Regions from separate parts of the Homo sapiens genome. Here region 1 is linked to region 2. Evidence: promoter capture Hi-C in human tissues and cell types (Jung and others, 2019). All regions are on one chromosome and are shown on one strand. Each heading gives the region's core, a stretch centred on a gene start or on the middle of the fragment in contact. The rest is flanking DNA. Distances are from core to core; before and after follow the strand shown.

Region 1 (5,031 bases), core at 814-3,313, 400 kb after region 2:
GACCAGCCCAGCCAACATGGTGAAACCCGTCTCTACTAAAAATACAAAAATTAGCTGGGCATGGTGACGCACACCTGTAGTCTCAGCTACCTGGGAGGCTAAGGTGGGAGGACCACCTGACCCTGGGGTGCTGCAGTGAGTCGTGATCACGCCACTGCACTCCAGCCTGGGTGATCCTGGGTGAGACCCTGTCTCAAAAAAAAAAAAAAGAAGACTGAATGAATGAAAGAAAGAAAAACTATTATATAAGGAAAGCCAATCCCAGAGGTATCACATTTTGAACCCCTACCTTTAATAACAACAGACCCTAAACGTGTTAACACCCAACTTTCCCTACCATTCTGAAAGAACAGAGAAAGCTAAGGACAGATATCAGGAGAAAAGAAAAAGAGGGGGATGAAAAACCAAATCCAAAATGTCTCACAACATGTCATGGGTCCTTTAACATGTTATAAACAAAAAACACTACCTTCTCCTCACTTGAAGGTTGGTTTGAAGACAAAGTCATGGTGCTGTTCTCCAACAGCCAAACCTCCGTGTTCTATAATAACCAGTTCTTGCACTACTATCCCACTACTCAACATACAAAGGTCAGTATCAAGGAGGAAACAATGGCCTGACTTATTGTACCAAAGCCAAAAATATCTTTCACTCCCCCATCCACTCCCTATCCTGTTCATCCCACCTTTGTAAAAGATCTCATGATCTTCCTGGGCTTTTACCCATCCCTCTTCAATCTGCCCTACAAATCCAGTAAGTCACCAAGTCCTATAAAATCCAGTGCAACAAGTCTGACCATTTACTCCTCTTGTGTGATCGACTGACACAAACAGTTCTAATCCTCATTACCCTTTCCCATAGAGTTCTACTACAGACCTAACTGATCCTCCCTGTCTACAGGCCATGTCTTTGATACAGTGCTAGAGTACCATTCCTGAAGTCAAAGGTCTGATGGATGCTCCTCAGTAAAAGGGCCCATCGGCCAGGCACGGTGGCTCATGTCTGTAAGCCCAGCACTTTGGGAGGCTGAGGCGTGTGGATTAATTGAGTTCATGTGTTTGAGACCAGCCTGGCCAACATGGTAAAACTCTGTCTCTACTGAAAATACAAAAAATCAGCAGGATGTGGTGGCGCGTGCCTGTAGTCCCAGCTACTCAGGAGGCTGAGGCAGGAGAATCGCTTGAACCTGGGAGGTGAAGGTTGCAGTGAGCCAAGATTGTGCCACCAGCCTGGATGACAGAGCGAGACTCCGTCAAAAAAAAAAAAAAAAAAAAAAAAAAAAAAAGCGCCCATCAATTCCATGTTGCCTATAAAACAAATTCTAAACTACTCCATGATCTAACCATAGGTCATCTCTCCAGTCTCACTCTGGTGATTACCCCTCTTGTGTCCAGTGCATTAACAAATAAGACGGCTCATCATTCCTTAGCATTTGCCATACTTTCCCTTCTACTTTGCCTTATACCTCCTGTTACTTCTAACTGTCCTTCCACCTCTGCTCAACAATAATTAACAATCACCTTCTTCCCTCAAAGCAGAAACTAGGAAAGAAAGCAAACACATCACAGGAAAGGCGATTATAAGAATCTATGGTCTCAGAAGCAGCATTGGTTTGAAAAAGGAGCAATGCCTTGAAGACCAAAAGTCCAGCTTTGCCAATTTCTTGCTAAGTTATACTGAGTAAGCCACTCACCTTTCTGAGCCCCAGTTTCCCCATCTGTAAAATGTATCTACCCTACCTAACATACAAGATTATCCAGACAATTAAGTATGGGCCGGGCACAGTGGTTCATGCCTGTAATCCCAGCACTTTGGGAGGCCAAGGCAGGAGGATCACCTGAAGTCAGGAGTTTGAGACCAGCCTGGCCAACATGGTGAAACTCTGTCTCTACTAAATACAAAAACTTAGCCAGGCATAGTGGTGCATGCCTGTAATTCCAGCTACTACTCGGGAGGCTGAGGTGGGAGAACTGCTTGAACTCAGGAGGTGGAGGTTGCAGTGAGCTGAGATCATGCCACTGCACTCCAGCCTGGGCAAAAGAGCAAGACTCCATCTCAAAAAAAAAAAAAAAAAAAAAAGAAAAAGAAAAAAGAAAGACAATTAAGTATGATAAAGTGTGTCAAAATGCTTATGGGGGGATGGAGCTAAAGCTTACAGGGAAAATTATACCTTTAAATGCTTATATAGAAAAAAAATCTAAAAATTAATGAGCTACGCACATTCTTAAGAAGTTTGAAAGAAAGCTTTAAATATTTACGTAGAAAAACATCTGAAAATTAATAAGCTACGCGCATTCCTAAGAAGTCTAAAAGAAAGGCAAAATAAACCCAAAAGAAACAGAAAATTAGAAAGTAGAAATTACAAAGAAAACAAACACAATACACCAAACCCAAAAGACAGTTTTTTGAAAAGAATAAGATTGTTCACATGCTTGTGTAAACTATGACAAACAATATAAAAGTAAGCTGTGGTTATCCAGTAGAGATGAAACTTCAAATAAAAAGGGCTGAAGTGGCCGGGCACAGTGGCTCACGCCTGTAATGCCAGCACTTTGGGAGGCCGAGACGGACGGATCACGACGTCAGGAGATCAAGACCATTCTGGCTAACACGGTGAGACCCCGTCTCTACTAATAATACAAAAAATTAGCCACGCATGGTGGTGGGCGCCTGTAGTCCCAGCTACTCAGGAGGCTGAGGCAGGAGAATGGCGTAAACCTGGGAGGAAGAGGTTGCAGTGAGCCGAGATCGCGCCACTGCACTCCAGCCTGGGCGACAGAGCAAGACTCCATCTCAAAAAAACATAAAAAAAAAAAAAAAGGGGCTGAAGTAAGTTTCTTTTGTGAAATGGTTTCTCAGATCTCAGTACTATTGACATTTGGGACAGATAATTGTTGGGGTGAGCTAGGGGCTCTCCTATGCATTGTAGGATGTTTAATAGCATCCTCAGCCTCTATCCACAAGATGACAGTAGCATCCCCACCCCACCCCCAACAATCCTGACAACCAGTGTCTTCACACATTGTAAACTGTTCCCTAAGAAGCAAAATCATACCAGGTTGAGAACCACTGCTCTAAGAAAACAAAAGGGCCACATCACACTACACCAACTAAAACTAGATTATTCATAGCTATTCTTACTAGTAGAATAGCTAGCTGCTCTGCCCATGACTACGGGATGGCAGCAAGGACAAGACTAAAGAAATAGGCAGGTTTTGGATTTTTCAGGAAAACTGCATAGAGTGCTCAACATGAGAGGAAAAGAAAAGCTTTAGGCCGGGTGTGGATCACGCCTGTAATCCCAGCACTTTGGGAAGCCGAGGCAGGTGAATCACCTGAGGTCAGGAGTTCAAGACCAGCCTGGCCAAAATGGTGAAACCCTGTCTCTACTAAAAATACAAAAATTAGCTGGGCATGGTGGCAGGCACCTGTAATCTCAGCTACTCAGGAGGCTGAGGCAGGAGAATTGCTAGAACCTGGGAGGCGGAGGTTGCAGTGAGCCGAGATCGCGCCATTGCACTCCAGCCAGGGCCAACAAAAGAAAAAAAAAAAAGCTTTAAGAGGTAAAATAGGGTCAAAAACACCAGAAGTAACAGAAGTATTACTTTTATTTTTGTGGCTCTAACACTGTAGTGAAATATAAAAATGGTCCTTGAGTCAAATTCCAAGAAGTCAGTTAACCTAGCAGAGCACAGCAGGACATAGGGCCTAATGGAACGTTTGTTTATCACTCTGAACTTCAATAAAAATGAGTCATTTTAAAATTTTAAAAAAGTATTTAAGGCCGGGCATGGTGGCTCACCCCTGTAATCCCCAGCACTTTGGGAGGCCAAGGCGGGCAGATCACCTGAGGTTAGGAGTTCGAGAACAGCCTAACCAACATAGAGAAATCCCGTCTCTACTAAAAATACAAAATTAGCCAGGCATGGTGGCAGGCACATGTAATCCCAGCTACTCAGGAGGCTGAGGCAGGAGAATCGCTTGAACCAGGAGGTGAAGGTTGCAGTGAGCCAAGATGGCGCCATTCCACTCCAGCCTGGGCAACGAGCAAAACTCCATCTCAAAAAAAAAAAAAAAAAAAAAAAAAAAAACACCAAAACCAAATTGCACAGCTACATTATTCTGAGACAAATCACAATTAAATTCTTGTCATTTCTAAATAAATAATAGTAAAGTCCGCAGAAGCATATCATATAATTTTTGAATAATTAACAATTTTACAAGGAAAAGGGAAAAGAGAATTCCAAGAAGCCAACAGGGAAGATAGTGTGTATATATCCATTACACTCACCAGAAGCATCTAAAATCCAATCTAAACCTGATGGGAGTTCTAAGGGTGTCTGTAAATACAATTATGAGAACCCAATGATGAAAAGCAAAAAGTGATGCTGACACCTAGGGACTCTAACAGCATCTCAGGAACAATGAGAGCCAAGCAAACATTACTGTCTTCCATTATTTCTATTCATTCTACTTTCTAGAAATGAGACTCCAACTGAATAAGCTAGCAACAGACAGCAAATGCTACTGGAGGGATAAAAGTGAATGGTCATTTCCCCGCAGAAATGGAGAGAGGCTTCTGGACAGTATAAAGGAGGGCAAACGGATTCCCAAGCCACATGACAGCTGTTAGGATGAATGAGAACTGAAGATAGTAAACACCAGTAAAGACAGAGGATCAGTGCTCATCCTCCTGGAATCTGGAGAACGGCAGGAGTACATTTTCCTACGTTCCTTCAGATTCAAGTAATTAGATGATCTAATGCAACGTTCAGTCCCACTAGGGGGTCTGTTATGAACAGACAAAAACCCTATTCCTCAGTCAGTAGGAAGCTTACAAACAACTAAATCCTATGCCATAAAAGGCTGGAATTAATTGAGAAGCCTTGTGGCTGGCCAAATAACCTAACATTAGACTGAACATTAAAAGTTCAATGCCATTTCAAGAAGCTGAGGGCAAAGGAAGGAGTGAGCTGAGCAAACCAAATAGAAGGCATCAAAAGGGGATCTACCAGCTATGGAGATGTAGTG
Region 2 (4,385 bases), core at 1,728-4,227:
AAGGCCACATAGCAGGGCAGCCTGGTTCTTTTAAAGTCATCACAGGCTGGACATGGATTACAGGCTCACGCCTGTAATCCCAGCACTTTGGGAGGCCAAGGAGTGTGGATCACCTGAGGTCAGGAGTTCGAGACCAGCATTGCCAACATGGTAGAACCCCGTCTCTACTAAAAACACAAAAATTAGCTGGGCATGGTGGCAGGTGCCTGTAATCCCAGCTACTCGGGAGGCTGAGGCAATAGAATCGTTTGAACCCAGGAGGTGGAGGTTGCAGTGAGCCAACATCGCGCCATTGCACTCCAGCCTGGGCAATGAGAGCAAAACTCTGTCTCAAAATAAATAAATAAATAAATAAAATAAATAAAAGTAAATAAATAAAGTCATCACTGCCCCCGCTGTCAGCCTCTACCCTGCTGGCTTCTCTTTCTCAAGGATGTGGCAGTCAGACCTCCTCCTCCCTGTCCCAGTCTCCACAGCCACCTCTTCAACTTCCTGAGCTGAAGTCCTGACTTGCTGTCAGGCATCACACCACCCCCACCTCCTGTAGCCCCTGTCTTTGCCCACCAGGTTCTCTACCTGTGCTCAGCACCCCACAGGGACTTTATTCCTGCAGAGACACTCTCCTCTGGGCTCAGCTGTTTCTTTCTTGGCACCAGATCATCCATCAGTATATAAGCCTGCTTTTCATTCTCCCAACTCACACCTGTCAGAATTCTCTCCCCTTTCTCAGGAATGCTTTGGTAATGAGTCATCCACATGTCCTGCCTCCACAACCTCCTTTCCGCTTCACTCCCTAAACCTCTGCAGTATGCGTCTGTCACTCCACGAACCTGGCTTGTCAAGGAACGTTCACTGGGCATGTGTTTATTAAGCTCTTGCTCTATCTACATTATGCTGAGTTAGGCAGTGGGAAAATGAAGGTGATCAAACCAGTCCCAAACTCTGGGCTCCTATGATAATGGACACATACACAACTAAGTAAACAATGCAATTAGAGTCTGGGAAAGTTCTATAAAGAAAGCAAACCATGGCCGGGCACGGTGGCTTACGCCTGTAATCCCAGCACTTTGGGAGGCCGAGGCGGGCAGACCACCTGAGGTCAGGAGTTCAACACCAGCCTGGCCAACATGGTGAAAACCCGTCTCTACTAAAAATAATTCTTTAAAAATTAGCTGGGAGTGGTGGTGTGCGCCCGTAATCCCAGCTACTCAGGAGGCTGAGGCAGGAGAATCGCTTGAACCCGGGAGGCAGAGGTTGCAGTGAGCTGAGATCGCACCACTGCACTCCAGCCTGGGAGACAGAGTGAGACTGTCTAAAAAAAAGAAAAAAAAAAAAAGAATAGAAAAGAAAGGAAACCATGAGAGGACACAGAATCACTGGTGAGATGAGGCAGTGGTTCTCTATTTTAGATAATGGAGTCCAGGGAGGCCTCTATAGGAAAGAGCACACCATCCAAAAAGCAGGGAGAAGGGCAGTCCAGGTGGCTGGGATAGCAAGTGCAAAGGTCCTGAGGCAGAACACACATTTGTGGTTGGCAGGAAAGAAAGGCAATGCGTTTGGAGAGAAGTAAATGACAGAGGTTGTCAGGGTCAAGTGGGTAAAGAATTGATCTTCAATGCAAGGGGATGTCCTTGCAGATTTAAGGGACAGGATCTGATTTGTATCTTAAAACAAGTCCCCAAGCCCCACTGCCGTGTGGAAAATGAACTATAGGGGGAAGAGGTGGAGAAGGCAACAGAGTTGTTAGAGGCAACAATTTCTCAATTCTGATGTCCAACAGGCATCTCACATTTAATGCATCCAACAAAAATATCTGGCTCATCATTCCCCCTCAAAACAAAACAAACAAAGCCCCTGCTCCCCACTCAATCTTCCATCTCTGTAAACAGCCCACCATTCACCCAGTTGTCAAGCCAAAGACATAGGGGCTATCCTTGCCTCCTTTTTCTCCCTCATCTTCTGTGTCCCAAGTCCAGTACTCTTTCTTTGTCCACTCCTCTGCATTCCCACTGTCCTCCCTCAGGTCCAGGCAGCCCTCTCTCCTTCCTCCCCTCTGCTCCTTCTCCACGAAAGAGTCAGGCGTGCTTTTCTTTTTTTTTTTTGAGACAGAGTCTCGCCCTGTAGCCCAGGCTGGAGTGCAATGGTGCGATCTTGGCTCACTGCAACCTCCACCTCCCAGATTCAAGCAATTCTCCTGCCTCAGCCTCCAGAGTAGCTGGGATTACAGGCACGTGCCACCACGCCCCGTGAATTTTTTTTTTTTTTTTTTTTTTTTTTTTGGATTTTTAGTAGAGATGGGGTTTCACCATGTTGTCCAGGCTGGTCTGGAACTCCTGACCTCGTGATCCGCCCACCTCAGCCTCCCAAAGTGCTGGGATTACAGGGGTGCTTTTAAGAACACAGATCGGCCAGGTGCGGTGGCTCACGCCTGTAATCCCAGCACTTTGGGGGACAGAGGCGAGCGGATCGCGAGGTCAGGAGTTCGAGACCAGCCTGGCCAACATGGTGAAACCCCGTCTCTACTAAAAATGTAAAAATTAGCCGGGCGTGGTGGTGGGCGCCTGTAATCCCAGCTACTCGGGAGGCTGAGGCAAGAGAATCGCTTGAAACCGGAAGGCGGAGGTTGCAGTGGGCCGAGATTGTGCCACTGCCCTCCAGCCTCGGTGGAAGAGCGAAACTCCGTCTCAAAAAAAAAAAAAAAGAAAAAGAACACAGATCTTCTTGCCCAACAACATCCCTCAAGGACTCCTTTCTTTTTCAGTATCTTGAATAAGACTTAAGAGACAGGTCCTGGAGAAACAGAGAAGGGAGGAGGCAGCCTGAAGGGGGCGGAGGCAAGCTCGTAGCACCGCCTCCACGTCTGGCTTGCGTTCTTCCGGGCTTCGGAACTTTTCTTCGCGGAGCCTGGGGAAGCTTTTCCAGTAGTACTTTCCGGCGTTGTTGACCCTATTTCCCGTGCTGCACCGCAGCCCCTTTCTCTTCCGGTTCTAGGCGCTTCGGGAGCCGCGGCTTATGGTGAGTGTTGGCCGCGCGGCATCCGATGCCATCCGCGACTTACGGGTGGCGGCGGGGCGCGGGCTGCGGAGAGGACTGGTGACCGACCGTGTGTCTGTCGGGAGCAAAAGCTGCGGGGTGGGAATGGTGCTTCTAGGTCCTAGGAGGGGGATGGCAGGGAAAGCCACTTTATTGGGGAATGCAGCTTTCCGGGGGTAAGGAGTTGATTTCAGGGCATCATTACCTGGGTTTGGGAGGCCAGGACTGGCGTTTGGTCGTGCAGAGTAAGCCGAGACTCGTGGAGGCTGCACATTCTCTGCCTGCAGGCTCATTCTGACCAGAATGGGGGGGGCAGAGGTGGCCCAGCCTGGCGAGCCCTTAACCCTGATCTCCACTTTTGTCTTCCAGGTGCAGACATGGCCAAGTCCAAGAACCACACCACACACAACCAGTGTAAGTTTTTTGGGCCCTGCCTACATCCCAGACCCTGGCAAGGACTGGTTCAGGCAAACTGGGACAGAGATGAAGGGGCACGTTTCCATTGTGGGCCTGAGGCTGATTGATTTCACCCAGTAATAACTTTAGGGTTTATAGGTTTAGAGATCTACTTGAGATACAGAGTGTTTTGCATTTAGTAGTAAGGGTTTCCCATATCTCAAGTGTAGCTGCTGTAGGAAGTGTTGGTTCTCCCAGACTTGCCAGCTGTGATGTTGGGTGGTCTTATTAGAGGAAAGTTCTTTGTTGGCTTAATTCCCTTTTTTTCTCCCACAGCCCGAAAATGGCACAGAAATGGTATCAAGAAACCCCGATCACAAAGATACGAATCTCTTAAGGGGGTGAGTGCACTGAATCACATGGAAGTGTCTTTTCTTGGTTCCAGGTGCACAGTCAAGGCCTCTCATGTAGTTTTTCTCTAGCTTTGGCTTCTGCCTGAGCACAGCCTAACTGGCCCACCCAAAGCCTGCAATTCCTTTTTCTACCCTACCAGACCCATAATAAAGCTTTCCTTGGTCTCCACAGCCTGAAGTGTAACCCTCTGGTCAGGGTGTAACCTGCCTCCTGAGGGCAGTTTGGCTATCTCCCTTGCTTGGCAGTGGCACTTAGGGTAAGGAGTGGCCTTGTCTGAGTGCGTGCAGGGCACATTCCCACACTGACCAGCCTTATGACCTCCATCTGACCCAGTGCTGGAGTTGGGGTCAGCTTCTCTTCCTGTGTCAGGGGGTTCTAAGGATTAGCTGAGAAGGCTGGAGGGTCTAGGGGAGAGCTGAGCATGTCCCCAGTCTGTTCCTTCCCTTTACTTTTGCTCTCTGTTCCGTGGAGTGAATCACAAACTCTGAGCCTCAGTTTCCCCATATCCCACCTTGGCTATAAGTCTTTTGGACCAGACTTGG

The links. Contacts are between HindIII fragments. The study calls those that stand out against the background at their distance.
Region 1: a contact is called between a fragment that was not itself captured here and the fragment with the promoter of RPL29 in region 2, in 1 of the 25 tissues and cell types used here (thymus).

What each region holds. Positions count from the first base shown.
Region 1 is chr3:51,591,115-51,596,145 of GRCh38, reverse strand. All of the region lies in intron 3 of RAD54L2 (RAD54 like 2), which reads right to left. Among named protein-coding and RNA genes, the nearest start is that of RAD54L2, 55 kb to the right of the region's middle. RefSeq lists a silencer at 2,472-2,675. The HindIII fragment of the contact is 4,263 bases long and covers 1-4,194 here.
Region 2 is chr3:51,994,487-51,998,871 of GRCh38, reverse strand. It overlaps RPL29 (ribosomal protein L29), which reads left to right and starts at 2,977. Exons shown (of 4, transcript NM_000992.3): 1 at 2,977-3,015; 2 at 3,403-3,447; 3 at 3,766-3,830. The coding sequence starts at 3,411. RefSeq lists an enhancer at 2,873-3,032. The HindIII fragment of the contact is 10,138 bases long and covers 1-4,385 here.